4 separate regions of the Homo sapiens genome follow, and regions 1, 2 and 4 are each linked to region 3. The links are contacts of gene promoters, found by promoter capture Hi-C in blood cells and fetal thymus (Javierre and others, 2016). All regions are on one chromosome and are shown on one strand. Each heading gives the region's core, a stretch centred on a gene start or on the middle of the fragment in contact. The rest is flanking DNA. Distances are from core to core; before and after follow the strand shown.

What was found. Contacts are between HindIII fragments. The CHiCAGO score rates a contact against its expected background, and 5 or more counts as called.
Region 1: the fragment with the promoter of FMNL2 here is called in contact with the fragment with the promoter of NMI in region 3 in 1 of 17 cell types (total B cells); the score reaches 7.5 in total B cells.
Region 2: a fragment that was not itself captured here is called in contact with the fragment with the promoter of NMI in region 3 in 1 of 17 cell types (M2 macrophages); the score reaches 5.1 in M2 macrophages.
Region 4: a fragment that was not itself captured here is called in contact with the fragment with the promoter of NMI in region 3 in 5 of 17 cell types (total CD4 T cells, total CD8 T cells, activated CD4 T cells and 2 more); the score reaches 14.2 in total CD4 T cells.

What each region holds. Positions count from the first base shown.
Region 1 is chr2:152,333,599-152,337,170 of GRCh38, reverse strand. FMNL2 (formin like 2) reads right to left here and starts at 1,997. Exons shown (of 26, transcript NM_052905.4): 1 at 1,451-1,997. The coding sequence starts at 1,567. RefSeq lists silencers at 938-1,037, 1,548-2,197. The HindIII fragment of the contact is 3,556 bases long and covers 1-3,039 here.
Region 2 is chr2:149,565,351-149,568,983 of GRCh38, reverse strand. No RefSeq gene overlaps it. Among named protein-coding and RNA genes, the nearest start is that of MMADHC-DT, 20 kb to the left of the region's middle. The HindIII fragment of the contact is 3,218 bases long and covers 1-3,007 here.
Region 3 is chr2:151,287,188-151,290,930 of GRCh38, reverse strand. It overlaps NMI (N-myc and STAT interactor), which reads left to right and starts at 1,263. Exons shown (of 8, transcript NM_004688.3): 1 at 1,263-1,338. RefSeq lists enhancers at 675-1,094, 1,155-1,234, 1,625-1,674, 1,695-1,744, 2,545-2,714 and a silencer at 1,295-1,494. The HindIII fragment of the contact is 4,870 bases long and covers 1-3,132 here.
Region 4 is chr2:149,600,324-149,604,029 of GRCh38, reverse strand. All of the region lies in intron 1 of MMADHC-DT (MMADHC divergent transcript), which reads right to left. Among named protein-coding and RNA genes, the nearest start is that of MMADHC, 14 kb to the right of the region's middle. The HindIII fragment of the contact is 1,748 bases long and covers 864-2,611 here.

The DNA.
Region 1 (3,572 bases), core at 748-3,247, 1.0 Mb before region 3:
GGAGATCACAGGAGATGCAAAGCAACACAAGCAACCTCATCTGTCTCCCCGACGGCCACACCAGAGTTTCCAGGTGGCGGGAGAGAGAGCTCAGTTCTCCCAAAGAGCACACAGCTAACCTGCCATCCAGAACATCACTTCCCATACCAAACCATTCCTTTTTCAAGGCCTGAAGGCAGGCAATTTGAACGTCCTGTAGCTGAGCACACCTCAGAAAACCGATTTTTGATCTAGAACTCGAGTCCTCTGCCAAAGTTCTAAGTTTTCATGAAAACAAAAGAAGAAAAGAAAACCCGCAGGCAGGCACAATCGTTGGCTGCCCGGATCACGAGTTTCCCTTGCTGCCTAGTCTTGTGGAGTTTAGAGGTAACCAACTAGGAAAAGAGAAGTGTCCAAGTGTCAGGAGTAGGAATGAGCCCAATCTCGCCTGTGTGTGTCCCTCCCAACATCCCTTAGAAGAGGCTGGGACACTAAAACTGGTAGTCTGGGGGACCAACAGCAGTCCAGATCCTGGCTGGGGCAAGCCGCCACACCCTCTGCAGCTCACAGCACAAGCCTCGGCTGGGAGGGGCCCAGACACTGTCCCAGCAGGAAAGGGAGAAAGAGGGGAGTTTTCAGAGTCCTGGATTTGAGGAGCTGGAAAGCTGGGAGAAGCGGAATGCAGGAGGGAGCGGGGGACCTGGCTGGGCGTGCAAGAGGAGGGGAGGGGTCGCCCGTGCAGTCAGGACAGCTCGCAACACGTCCCCGCAAAACTCCACATTTTTGTGGTTTAAGATTTAAGTCTAGAGGGAACGCGCTGAGGTTCTCCCCGGCCTGGGTTTCAGATGCCCCTGCTCCTCGCCAAGGGCCGGGGCGCCGCACTGCTGTGGGTCTCCGCTTTCCCTTTCGGGGAAGCTCCCCTTGGCCAAGCCGCGACGTGAGCCCTCCAAGTTCGCCTCCGCTCACCGCCCGGCGCGGCGCCCGCGGCCGGCCACATGCGCCCCATCTGCCGGGGACTTCGCAGGTCCCGGGCTGGCCGCCCGAGGGATGGTCCGCAGGGGCTCAGGGTGTTTTGTTTTGTTTTGTTTTGTTTTGTTTTTTTTAAAAAAAAAGCCTAAGCGGCTCGCCACCTCCTCCTCCCAGCCCGCGCCACCTTCTCTTCACGCCCACGCCGCACCTCCCGGGCACACGCGCCGTGAGGTGCCTCTCCAGCCAGACAATGGGTTCGAGGCTGGTTGGGCAGCCGGCCCTGAGCCCCCATCCCCATCCCGGGACCCCGAGAGACTGAGCGCGGGGGACTGCCAGGGGGGTGAAGAGGAGTGCTGGGGGGCCACAAAGGGGAAAGCGGGAGCCTCCCCCTCGGGAATGGAGGCTCGCTCCCGGCACGGGGTGAAGGGGAGGGGCGGGGGTCAGCTGCGCCGCCCGGCCCGGGGCCCCGGGTCCCCGCGCCCGACCGCCGCCGCGCACTTACCAGCACGATGGCAAATCGCTCCTCCAGTTCACCTGGCTCTGGCATCGGCAGCTTCAAAGGCACGTTGTGCGCCCTGAAATCGGTCTGCTGCGAATCCATGCTCCCTGCGTTGCCCATGTCGGCGGCGCGCCGGGGCCGGGGGCTGCTCCGGGCCCCTAGCGTGCGCGTCGGAAATCAGAACAGCTCCCGGCGGTCGGCTGCCGCCCGCAGGCGCGACCTGCCCGGCTCCCCGCCCTCCGCCGCGCCCAGGCGGGTGTGCGGCGCGCACCGCTCCCTAGCAGCGCTCCAAGCCGAGCCGCCCCCCGGCCTCCCTCATGCTCTCCGCCGCCCCAGCGCGGCCCCGGCCTCTTTTCCTCGGGAGGGGTAGTTGGGGCGCTGGGCGCCTATGTGCATGGTGCTCCGCTGGCACACCGCCCCCTGCCAGAGATCGCGGCCCCCGGCGCGTGGTCCCTCCTACTCGGCCTTCTGCCGGGCCCGCGGCCGCCGCTGACACTTCCAGCCCTAGCCGGCCACGGCTGCGCCTGCCTGGCTAGCACCTGGAGCAGACAAATGCAGCTCCGCGCTCCCCTACACAATGCCACCTCTCGCCCGGCGCCCGGCCCCCGCCCCCGGCCCGGCTCCGCCCACTCGCCCCGCGGACTGCCGGGACGCGTAGTTTCTCTCCAAAGTGTCCGCGCGCAGAAACCACGCCTGCTCTAGAGCGCCAGGCCGGGTTGGGACCATTTGCAGCAAAGGCGATCCGTAGTCTCTGGAGATAGCATATTGTCACTTTTGACCCTCCTCACCCCAACAGTGGAATACTTACATCGTGTATATCATGTTGACACTTGGTAGGCGGGTCTGACCATGACGGAATCGAATCAATGAATGAAGGAATGCATGCCTTCTGATTAAAATTCAGAAAATCGTTGCTGTTTTTAAAAGATCTAGTTCAGTAAGGAACTTCGAAAGCACTGGCAAAGTTCTGTTTCATAAACGGGGGGGTGGGTCCATGGGTGCTTGTTTATCGTTCTTTCTTCCATATATATGTTCTTTGGTGTGATTGAAATGTTTTATAAACAGATGTATAATTTATGGGTATATATAGTCAGACCCTAGGAGCTAGGTAAGGATTCAATTCAATTTAAAAAAAAAACCTGTCAAACACCTATTATGTATGGGATATTGTGTTCCTTGGTGGGAGAAAAAAGAGATTTGCCCTGCGCTGGAATACTTGCCAATCTAGTGAAGGAAAAAATGTACACACCCATATTTCATGTGAGATGGATATAATGATAGAGTGTTCTGGGAGACTTTGGGATGATCTTTGGCTGCAGCTCTCTTATTCCTTCACAGCAGTCTTGAGCAAGGTGTCTTACAGAAAAGATTGGACCTGACTCTGTCCTCTGGGGTGTATTTCAGACTATAACTACCCGTTCTGAAACCTCGGAAATAGAAATAGCCTTATAAGAGACTTTAGCCAACTGCTCATGTGAATGTTAAGGGCATACATCTGGTTGACTTGTGGCTGAACTTCTGCAGTTAGTCCTTTCTTAGTTTAAAGCAGTGTTTCTTAATCCTAGATGTGTATCAGATTCGCTTGGGAAGCTTTTTGTTAAAACTACACACACCTTGGGCTCTGCGTATTATCAGAATCTCCCTAAGCTGAGAGCCGAAGCCTGGGCCGGTGTATTTTCAACAAGCTCCCCAGGTGATTTTGATATGCAGGTAAGGTTGTTATCCTTTTAGTAAATAGCAAGTGTTTCTGGACAAGGTAGTACACCAAGATTCAATCAAGGACATTTCATTCATCTTTATAAACTTCAAGATACTTTAAACATAGTAGACGCCCAAGAACTATTTGTGGAATTGACAAGTGACTTTTTCCAAAAGCATATGACACAAATACACACAAATACATCATGTATGTTCTATTAAACCACTTCTAGTCTTTAAAGAATGGAGACAGTATAAATAAATTCAACTTAAAATTCTGAATAACTGTAACCTGTATTTCTAAAGCAGTGTTGTATCAAAGTTAATAGCAAATGTGTTACTGATCTGAGAGAAAAGCAGGGCGGTTTAGATACACACACACTCCAAACTAATGAAAATGAGAGAGAAAGAAAGCAGTTCGGACCAG
Region 2 (3,633 bases), core at 149-2,648, 1.7 Mb after region 3:
GAAAGTTTTCATTTATTTTGAAATGATGAAGTGTAGTGATTGCCACAGCATTTAGAAGAACATTTATTGAAGTGTATATATATATATATATATGCACATCATATGTGCTCAATAAATTTTTATGTGTGTAACCAGCACCCAGATCAAAACACAGAATACTCAAACACACTCATCCTGCTCCCTTCTAGGTACTACATGCTCCCCAGCCCTTGCCCTTTCCGTGAGTAACCACTGTCCAGGTTTCCTTGTACAGTATAGGTTGGTTTTGCCTGTTTTGACGCTTTATATATACGTAGACACACATACACATGTATATATACACACACACATTTTACATATATATATGAAACTGTATAATGTGTTCGCTTCAGTGTCTGGCTGCTTTTACTCAACATTGTGAAATTAATTCCTGTTATCGTATATGGTATCAAATTTGTTTGCCTAGTTTTTGCCTTCTCATTGCTTCTGAATTGGGGCAGCTTTGCCCCTCAAGGGAAATTTAGCAATGTCTGGAGACATTTTTTATTTTCATAATTTGGAGGGACATGGGGGAGTTGTGCTACAGAACTTAGTAGGTAGAGGACAGGGTTAGTGCTGAACGTCCCACAGTACAGAGGACAGCGTTACACAATACAGAATTTGGTCAAGTACCTTGCACCACTCTCATTATTTCTAATGTGTATTTTGCTTATTCAGCCATTTCCTACCTTGCACCATTCTTTAAGGCAAGTTCCCTTGAAATTTCAACATTTGCTTTAACAATTAGGAAGTGTCACTTACTGATCGAAAATGATACTTATTCCCTATAGGTGACTAAGTCTGTGCATTCTGTTGTACTGAGATAGGGTACATGGTGACGAGACTCTTTATCAACTTGCTTTTTAACAGGATTTCCAGAAACAAATATGATCAGCAGTAACTGTTAATTAAAAACTTTTTTTTCTGAAGTATTATGGCAAGATTCAGGTTTTAGAAATATAACTCAAGGAACTCTTACTGAATGATAATAATATAAAGTGGTTGACTATTATGTACCACAGAAAAAAACACCTCAGGTAACTGTTCACTTGATCAGGACCTTGTGGACAAGAAAGGATTTGTAAAATTATATATCTTAAACATAAATTTGCTACCTTTTAAAAAAATAAGACTGAGCCATTGAAATTACTATTAGATCTGTCACTGAATAAAAGTTTATTTGTTAAAGTTATGTTTTCACAAGAACTTAGGAATTTTTGTTCTTGGATGCTGGTTACATAGATGAAAATTTATCAAGCACATAGAAATTAAATGCTGAAAGAGATCTTTCAGATCATGTCATCCACATTCCTCATTTTATGGTAGACAAAATGGGAAACAGGAGCATTTGCATCAGGTCACACAGCTAGTGTTAAGACCCAGCACTGGGACTTGGCCAAGAGTCCATTAGTTATATATATTTCTTTTCTATATTCACTTCATGGTCATAATCAAGAAGTCTATTAAGTGTCTGATTAAAAATATCAAAGAGTTGCAGAATTTAAAGTGAAAGAACTTTTGGGTTAACTGATAATGCTGCCACTTCATAAACTTAGGAATTCATTACATTGAACGCTATGTGCTTTTAGTTTCTTTGAAAATTTACTGAAACATGTATCTAAAAATTCAATTATAGAATGCTAGACTTCAAACAATAGTTCTCTAGCTTCAAGTTTAAAACCTTCATGTCTTTCTTGGGCTTCTGTTACTTGTAATATCAACCTAGTCCTTACATTTGAACAAAACTCTCTTTTTAGTTCCAACTCTATATTCTCCTTGTGACTGTTGTCACAAGGAGGGTTTATCCACTTCTGCACTATTGACGTCTTGAACCAGTCTTTGTTGTGTGGGCTCTCCTAGACATTGTAGGAAGTTTAGCAGCATTCCCTAGTTTCTGCTTATTAGATACCAACAGCAAGCCATGGTTATGACAAAAATGTCTTCCGTTATTGCTATATTTCTCCTATGGGACAAAATACTTATCAGAAGTCAAATTTAACCAGGTGTTCTGAATTTTATCTGACAACTTTATCACTGGGGTTGAGAACCACTGATTCAAAGTCCTCAACTTTAACTGTACATTTAGATCCCCTGAGGGCATTTAGTACTGATGAGTTGGCCTCACACCCACATATTGATATCATTAGTCTGATGAGGTTTGGACCTAAGTACTTTTTAAGGGTTTCCCAGGTGTTTCAGTGTGCATTCAGGGTTAGAACCTCTGGTCGGTCCTAAAACTCAGTAATAGTTGGTGGATTAGAGGCATCTAAGGAAATAAGAGTAAGATTTGCTAATCTATTTAATGTATTAAGGAGCTATAGAAAAGAATGAAGGCTCTAATATTTTGCATTAAGAGAGACCTAATCAGGCCTAAATCAATTCAAGGATTTGAGTCACACTTCCTCTATGAAACCTTTCCTGGCTCTTCATCCCTCACTGGTCTTTTCCTTAATTTATATAGTACTTGGTCTCCACCACACGATTTTGTACACAGTTCCTTTATATTTTTTTGTCTTAAATCTTGCCTCCCATACTTGGAAAGTAAGGACCCAATTTCCTACTAACTTAAACACACCATTGAATATGCAGTAATAACTTTCCTGTTATCCTCTCATTCCTAACCAGGATATTTTAAAGTTTTTCATAGGGTTTTCATTGCCCTCTTAGAATACATGTAAACTGTAACTTAATTATGTAGACTTAAGGCTTTGAGCATTTTTTGTTTTTTGAGACTTTGAGCATTTGTCTTCCATTCATTACTGGAAATTATAATCAGTTAAAACCATGTCACTACTATAAAAAGCACATAAGTGGTCACTTGATTGATCACAGAGGTGACACTGCAGTGCAGTGAGAAAAGAAGGATCTTTTCAGTATATATTGCTGGGTCAATTGGATATTCATATAGAAAAATGTATTTTTACTTTTACATGACACATACATCAAAATTCTAAATTGATTCCAAGTCTAAATTTGAAAGGTTAAAGCTTCTAGGGGGAAAAAAAATCTTTGTGCTTTGGAGTAGACAAAGATTTGTTTTTAAGAGAATACAACATAATCATATAAAGGGAAAAATGATTAATTGGATCATGTTAAAAGTAAGAACCCTTGGCCAGGCGCCATGGCTCACACCTGTAATGCCAGCACTTTGGGAGGCCGAGGCTGGCGGATCACCTGAGGTTGGGAATTCAAGACCAGCCTGACCAACATGGAGAAACCCCGTCTCTACTAAAAATAGAAAAAATTAGCCGGGCGTGGTGGTGCTGTAATCCCAGCTACCCAGGAGACAGGAGAATCGCTTGAACCTGGGAGGCGGAGGTTGCGGTGAGCTGAGATCATGCCATTGCACTCCAGCCTGGGCAATGATAGCGAAACTGTCTCAAAAAACAAAAACAAAAAACAACTAAGAACTCTTAATTCATCAAAAGACATCATGAAGGAGAAGGCAGCTAGCAGAGTTAAAGATAAATACATACTCAACAATCTGGCAATATACATATCCAATAAACAGCTTGTATTCAAAATATATAAAGACTCCTAAAATCAGTAAACAAATAACCACCAGAAAAATAAACATTTACAAAGAAAGATACTCAAATGGTCGGTAAACACGGT
Region 3 (3,743 bases), core at 14-2,513:
TCAAGTTGCAGCAGAAGGAGTTTTTGTATTTTCTAACTGGTCTGATAAGCACAAAGAAGTCGTTTTTTTTACTTAGAAATGCCATTTTACAGGAGGCTGAGGTGGTGGGATCACTTGGGCCAGAGCTCAAGATCAGCCTGGGAAACAGTTAGATACCTGCCCCCAGCACCCAAATTAAAAGTACAAAAAATCTGGGTGCGGTCGTGAATTCCTGTAATCCCAGCTACTTGGGAGTGGAGGTGGAAGGACTGCTTGAGCTCAGGAGTTGGAGACTGGGCAACAGAGCAAGACTCATCTCAAAAAAAAAAAAAAAAAAGAGAAATGTCACCACTTTAAACTGGTTCCCATCAACCTTTTTGATACAAAGAAATTTTACTTTTGTTAAACTATTTTAGACCACTGTATCAGTTATTATATGTGACTAGGTAGCATGATAACCTATAATTTATGCCTTGAAATAATTTTGACTCATTTTCTTCCCACATCTGTATTTATGAGCCGGGGCAGCTGTGGGGTGGTTCTTTGTGTGGGATTAAGAGACACTGCAGTTCTTGAAATAAACCAGATGTTTGAATTTTCAAAGGAAAAGTTCACACCTAGTGAAGTATTTATTTACAAGCTCCACAACAAAACAAGAGATTATAAGAAAACTTTCAAGGGACATGGGTCACAGAAACCAACAGGAACACCACAGCTTTCCCAACTTCATGGCCCCGGGGGATGTTACAAAAGACACAGAAACGCCGATCTTGTGCTGACTGTAAACATTTGTCAACTAGTGTTACAATGACTAAGAAATTACAAAAGAGTTACAATCTGATGAAGAGCGATTCCTGCTTTGACTTTATTTGGTTTCTATCCACTTTTCCAACATACCTTATAAAATACATGCAAAAAACTGGTTTTAGAAAGCGTTCCCTAAAATTAGTGTGTACGGAAACTTCAGGTATACTTCTGCTTTCCTCCGCAAAACCACCCCTTTTTAAAAATCGAAAGTGAAATTAGTTTTTTTTTCTGTTAGTGACTAATCATTGGAGACAACCATGTTTAGTATTTGAGCATTGGTTAAATGCTAAAGAAAAATCGCCGTTAAAGCAGTTTTCTTTTTCACTGTCTTTTTCTTTTCGCGGGGAACCCAGCTGTTCCTGCGAGGGCCACCTCCTCAGGAAGACCCCGCAGCTCTCCCGCGGCGCTTCTGCAGGAGGCAGCGACAGTTTCGAGAACCCGGGCCTTCCCCTCCCAGTGCCTCCCGGGGTTCCGGCGTTTCAGGCGCTGCTGTTTTCCGGGAAGGGCAGGCGCGCTGGGCCTTGGGGAGCTGCGCTCGGCGGGCGGACGCGGGTGAGTGGGGAGTCCCTTCCCCGGCTGCCACTCCCGCCGCTGGCAGTCCCGGGCTGGAGAGCCGGGGGTGGAAAGGGAGGTGGGAGCCCTCAGCGCCGACGGAAGTGGGACAGCGCCGGAGTTGAGACCCTGCTCCCCGGGAGCTGCCCGCAGCCGAGTCGCGGAGGCCACGCCGCCTTCGAGGGGGCGCACCTGCTCCTGGGCCCGCTGTGCAGTCTCTGGGCCGTCAGGGCTTCGAGCCTTGTCACTTGTTTGCTTTGCTTCATTGAGGAAATTGAAACATAAAGTTATTTGTGTTTCCTCGCTGTTTTCTCTCTTTTTTTTTTTTTTTTTTTTTTTTGAGACGGAGTCTCGCTCTGTCGCTCAGGCTGGAGTGCAGTGGCGCGATCTCGGCTCACTGCAAGCTCCGCCTCCCGGGTTCACGCCATTCTCCAGCCTCAGCCTCCCGAGTAGAGTAGCTGGGACTACAGGCGCCCGCCACCACGCCTGGCTAATTTTTTTTTTTGTATTTTTAGTAGAGACGGGGTTTCACCGTGTTAACCAGGATGGATACGATCTCCTGACCTCGTGATCCGCACGCCTCGGCCTCCCAAAGTGCTGGGATTACAGGCGTGAGCCACCGCGCCCGGCCCTCGCTGTTTTCTCCGAGTGTCTCTGGAGATAGTCCTTAGGAAAACGGATTTCTTAAGAAAACGATTCTTGGTAGGGGCAGTGTTGTGCAGTCATGGCTGGCGTGTCAGAATAGGCAAGGTTTTTCTTGAAGGAGACATCCGAAGGAGAATACTGTGTTTCCAGTCTGTACAACAGGCAGACGTTCTATTGCCTTTCTTTTTGCTGCCACGCATGCATATAGGAAGATTCGATTCTACACGGCCTGGCACCGCAGTTATATGATTGTATTACGGAAATACGGTGATGTTGATTTGTATCAGTTTTTTTAATTCGCTGCCATAACAAATTACATGGCTTTAGTGGCTTAAACACATAGGAACGCGCGCGCGCGCGCACACACACACACACACACACACTCACATACACAATTTACTATCTTAGGATTCTGTAGCAGTCCTACTGAGGTCTCACTGGGTTAAAATCAAAGTGTTGGCAGGGTTGCCTTCCTTTCTGGAAGCTCTTGGGGTGAATCCTCTTTCCATCTTCCGGAGGCCACCTACCTTATTTGGCTCAGCAGCCCTTCCTCCATCTTCAGGGCCAGCAACATTGCGCCTCTGAAAGTTCTTCCGGGGTCACATTTCACTCTTGACTCTTCTTCTGTCTTCCGCTTTCACTTTTAAGTAGCCTCATGATTACACTGGGCTCCCACAGATAATCCAGGATGCTCTCCATATTTAAAAGCAAGCTGATTAGCAACCTTAATTCAATCTGCAGCCTTAATTCTCCTTTGCAATATAAACTAACATAATCACAGATTCTTGGGATTAAGATGTGGACATCTTTGAGGGAGCCATTGTTTTGCCTACTACATGATTGCATAAAAGGAATGACCATACATCCCACTCATGCATAGAGCAAAAGTATCCAGATGCAAAAGATGCCAAAAGGGTTCTGGTGGTGTTAGATAGTAGACCATTTATGCTGAGAGCCTTTATTACAGGCTCTTGGAATATTGGCATTGTCACAATAATAAAAATAAAAAGCAATTAAATAACATTGCAGTTTCTGTCTTCTGAAATGTAATAAGAGGACTTCATATACATGTGATGTCCTGAGTACAACAAATACTTAAGTCAAGATACCACATAATTCTCTAAATGGAGTGTTTTCAGTGTGTAAGCTTATACTGAGAAAGTGCTCTGAATGTCTGCAGGGAGGAGTAGACATGGTCCCAGCCCTCAACATGTTTACTGATGTGTCACGGAAAATGACATAGGTACACACGTAATTAAAGCGCCGCAAAGGAGATAAAGGAGGGGGAGTAACATCCTTTGGGGGAATCAGAAAAGGCTTCGGGAGCTTGGGGAAAATTTGGAATGGACCTTGAAGAACAGTAAGATTTCATTAGATGGAGATTAAGTTTGGGAGAGGAGGAAGGATGTGACAGTTTGAGGGACAGAGGAAAGAAAAGGAACTATCCAAGTGTTCAGTGTGGTTAGGGAACTGGGTTGAGGAATTGACTAAATAGGACGGGAAAGTGAGTTGGAGTTAGAATGTATCAGACCATGGCTGACCATTAAGAAGATTTTGCAGTTGTTGATACAATAGCGATATATATGTATATATGTATGCGTGTGTGTGTGTGTGTGTGTATGTGTGTGAGAGAGAGAGAGAGAGATGTGGTTTAAATATATATATACTTATATATATATATCGTCTCAAGGCATCTCAAACTTACAGAAAAGTTGCAAGTACAGTAAAACAACTTTTCCTTTTCCTAAATTATTTAAGAA
Region 4 (3,706 bases), core at 488-2,987, 1.7 Mb after region 3:
ATGCTCACACTTTCCCTTTACTTCTATTGTCTATAACATATGGTAAATCAATTAGTTAATTGTTGATTTGAAGATAGGTAATAAATTGAAAGTCAGGAAATATAAAAATATTTAACCTTAATTTTATGTAAGAGTTTCCTCAGAAGTAGTTTTGGAATGAAAAAAATAGTTTGAAAGTATATATTAAAATTTAGAATTTTTTTTGCAACTCAGCTAATGGTATTATCTTCACAGAAAAACTATTCTCTAATAAAATATACAGTATAACAGAATGTAAGCTTTGAATATAATTGAAAAGAACAAATTATTTGCTTAAAATATGCAGAATTGTCCCATAAATCCACAGGAATTGGCCATCTGGTTTGTCTCCGTTACGTATCTATTGACTCAAATTATGTCATCTGACTATTCTTGGGGGCGGTCAAGTAAAGTAAATAGAGGGAAACAAGTCAGTATAAAAAACATTGAAAATCTCACTGTTCTTTTCATTCATGAGCATTATTTGACATACTATAATGTCGTCATGTTTACCTATGTGCAAGCCTAGAATCGAGCACTAAATCATTAGGACCAGTTCAGGATAGGACTACAGCGTTTCAGCCTTTATGATGGAATTTGAAGTGTGATGACCATTTGAGTCATTTCTGTTTCTACATCCTTGAATCCTTTGGAAATTCTTAACTGTTATCTTTCACTGTCCCATAGCTTTCCATTTTTCCCCCCAGCAAATGAAAAGTCTGCAGAAATTTGAAAGAAAGAGAAGATACAAGCCTAATCAAAGGAAGATTGATTACTTTCCTGATATTCTGTAAATCTTGACATTCTATAAAAGGAATGATAGCATCTTAAGGAGCTAAAAAGCTTTCCTTATTCATTCATTTTTAATATAAACCTGTAATTGGATCATTTGGTTTTAACAGGTTATTTGATTTAGAGAACCATACTCATTATAATTGCTATTTATAAATTCATGTCAAAGAGAAATGTATTAAGAATTGTGGTTAAATTTGAAATTGGCCAATATAAGAAATTTTTTCTATTAATCCTGAGATATATTTCTTCATAACAGTTTTTAAATAATTTAACGCTACGTTATTGCAACTGGAAATTTTAACCATTTTTAAAAGATAGTTAAAACTGCCATAAAACAGAAAAATCTCCCCAATATATTATTCCATGCCACAATGGGAAACCATAGCGCAGCCTGAAAAGGCAATTAATTTACATATTATTGCCTAGAAAAGTATCTCTAAGTGCACAATAATAGAGAGCAATTTTATTTGAAAACTCAAAACACCTTAAAAGATCAATAAAATGTTAAAATTATAATCCCTTATAGATATTGAAGCTACACACATATTCCTGTGTGTACCTTTATATCATTTCTGAATATTATTATTCTGCTCATAAAAATGCTGTACTTTTTCTAAGGGAGATTATATACTAAATTCTTCATGGAATCTTTGGGAATTTGTGCCCACACTAAAGCAATATACCAAAGCAGAATTCTAAAAGAAGCTGTTTTTAAACAAAAATGAATTGAAAGGCAATAATGTATTTATCTATTAGGAAGTTAAATATATAATCTCTTAATTTGAAGTCAGAAGATTAAAATTGCCTTTTCATTTACCTATACCACTACCCAAACCATTAAGGCAGTTGGCTTATGATTTCTACTTTGGCCTTTCTGGTCAACTGTCTGCCAGAAAGCAATGTAATTACCTCTTTGAACTTTACTGCATCAGAAATAATGAGAACAATACTTTCTAAAATTCTATGACTTTACAGAGTATCTAGAAGACTCTGTATTTCATTATGTTGCTTCAACATAGTTGATTCAAAGTTCAAATAGCTTTCTAATTCTGCAGCTCTTTGTGACTGTTTTATTTATCATTACCTGGGAATTACTGGAGTATTCATATATGCACTGATCTTATCATTAATTTAATGGATATTCTCTTTTATCACAAACTCTGGAGTATTCTATTAGTCTTTAGGAATAGGATGTCAGGAAGTAAGAAACTGGCTCCATCTCCATGGACACTATCGTTTCAAGTCAAAATAGAGTCAAAAGGAACCCCATCACATGCTGTAAGCAACTAGAAAAACTCAGACAAAACATAGGAAACACTGGTTTAGAGGCATTTGAAAAGAGGCATTATAAGACTGTGATCCCTGAGAGAAAGAAACCAGATGATGAGATGTTAACCTGCACCATCTTACTTCCTGTAGGCAGTTTCCAGGCAACAGCACAGAGTTAGGCAGTCTTTTTAAGCTGAAGAAAGAGAGATTAGAATTCAGGGATATTACAAAAGGTGGAGTTCGTGGGGCATGGTAGCACAGATGAAGGAGCTGCACAAAAAAGGAACTCTGGAGATCTGCAGTGGGGTCTGGAGGAGGCTTTGCCTAAGTACTGATCTGTGCATGCATGAGAGGAAATGACTCATGCTTGGGAAAAAAACACAAGAAAGGAGTACTCAGAAATATTCTTGCAGCTCACAGAGCGCTAGGAATTGTTCATGTTCCCACCAGCCAAGATGAAACAATAACAACAACAACAACAAAATTTTAAAAACCAAAAACGAAATATATAAGGTATCAAGTAAAAGCTTGAGAATGGTATTAGATTCCAAAGCACTATATAATTAAATGGCCAAAAACTAATGATAAAAAGAAAATCTTAAGATCAGCCATAAAAATAAGACACATTGTGACACACTGCAAACAAAGCAATAAAGAGAAGAATGACAGCAGACTTCCATCATAAACTATGCAAGCCAGATGTATTGAGAGGGGGAAATATTGTCTACCTACATTTCTTTATCAAGAAAAATATATTTCCAATGTGAAGAATGAATGTACATTTCTGGAAGAACAAAATGAAGAGAATTCATCACCAAAAGAATTCCACTCCAACAACGCTAAAGGAAGTTCTTTAGGCAGAGCTAAAATAACACCAGGTGGAAAATTAAATCTACACAAAGGATTAAAGAAAGCCAGAAATGGTAAGTTTGTAGAGGAATGTAAAAAAACAATTTTCTCATTTTACAAAATATCATCAAAATAGAATCGACTGTTTAAAGCAAAAATGAGAGCAGTGTAGTATGGGATTCACAGCAAACATGGAAGTAAAATACATGAGAACAGCAGCCATCAGGATAAAGAGATGGAAGCACCCTGTTGTGAGGTTCTTATACTGCATGTGAAGAGGTATAAGGTAGATTGGGATAAGTTTTTTCTAATGAAAATTATTTGTATTTTTTTTTACCTCAATATGTGACTTTTTAAAAAAATTTTAGTTTTGGGGTACACGTGCAGGTTTGTTACACAGGTAAATTGCATGTCACAGGGTTTGGTGTACAGATTATTTCATCATCCAGGTAATAAGCATAATACCTGATAGGCAGTTTTTGGATCTTCACTCTCCTCCCATCCTCCACCCTCAAATAGACCCTGGTGTCTGTTGTTCCCTTATCTGCGTCCATACCCAATGTTTAACTCCTACTTATAAGTGAGAACATGCAGTATTTGGTTTTCTGTTCGGGCAACAGCCTACAGCTTCATTCATGCTGCTACAAAGGACATGATCTTGTACTTTTTTATGGCTGCATAGTATTCGATGGTGTATATGTACCACATTTTCTTTATCTAGTCTACCATTGACGGGCATTTAGGTTGATTCCATGTCTTTGCTATTGTGAATACT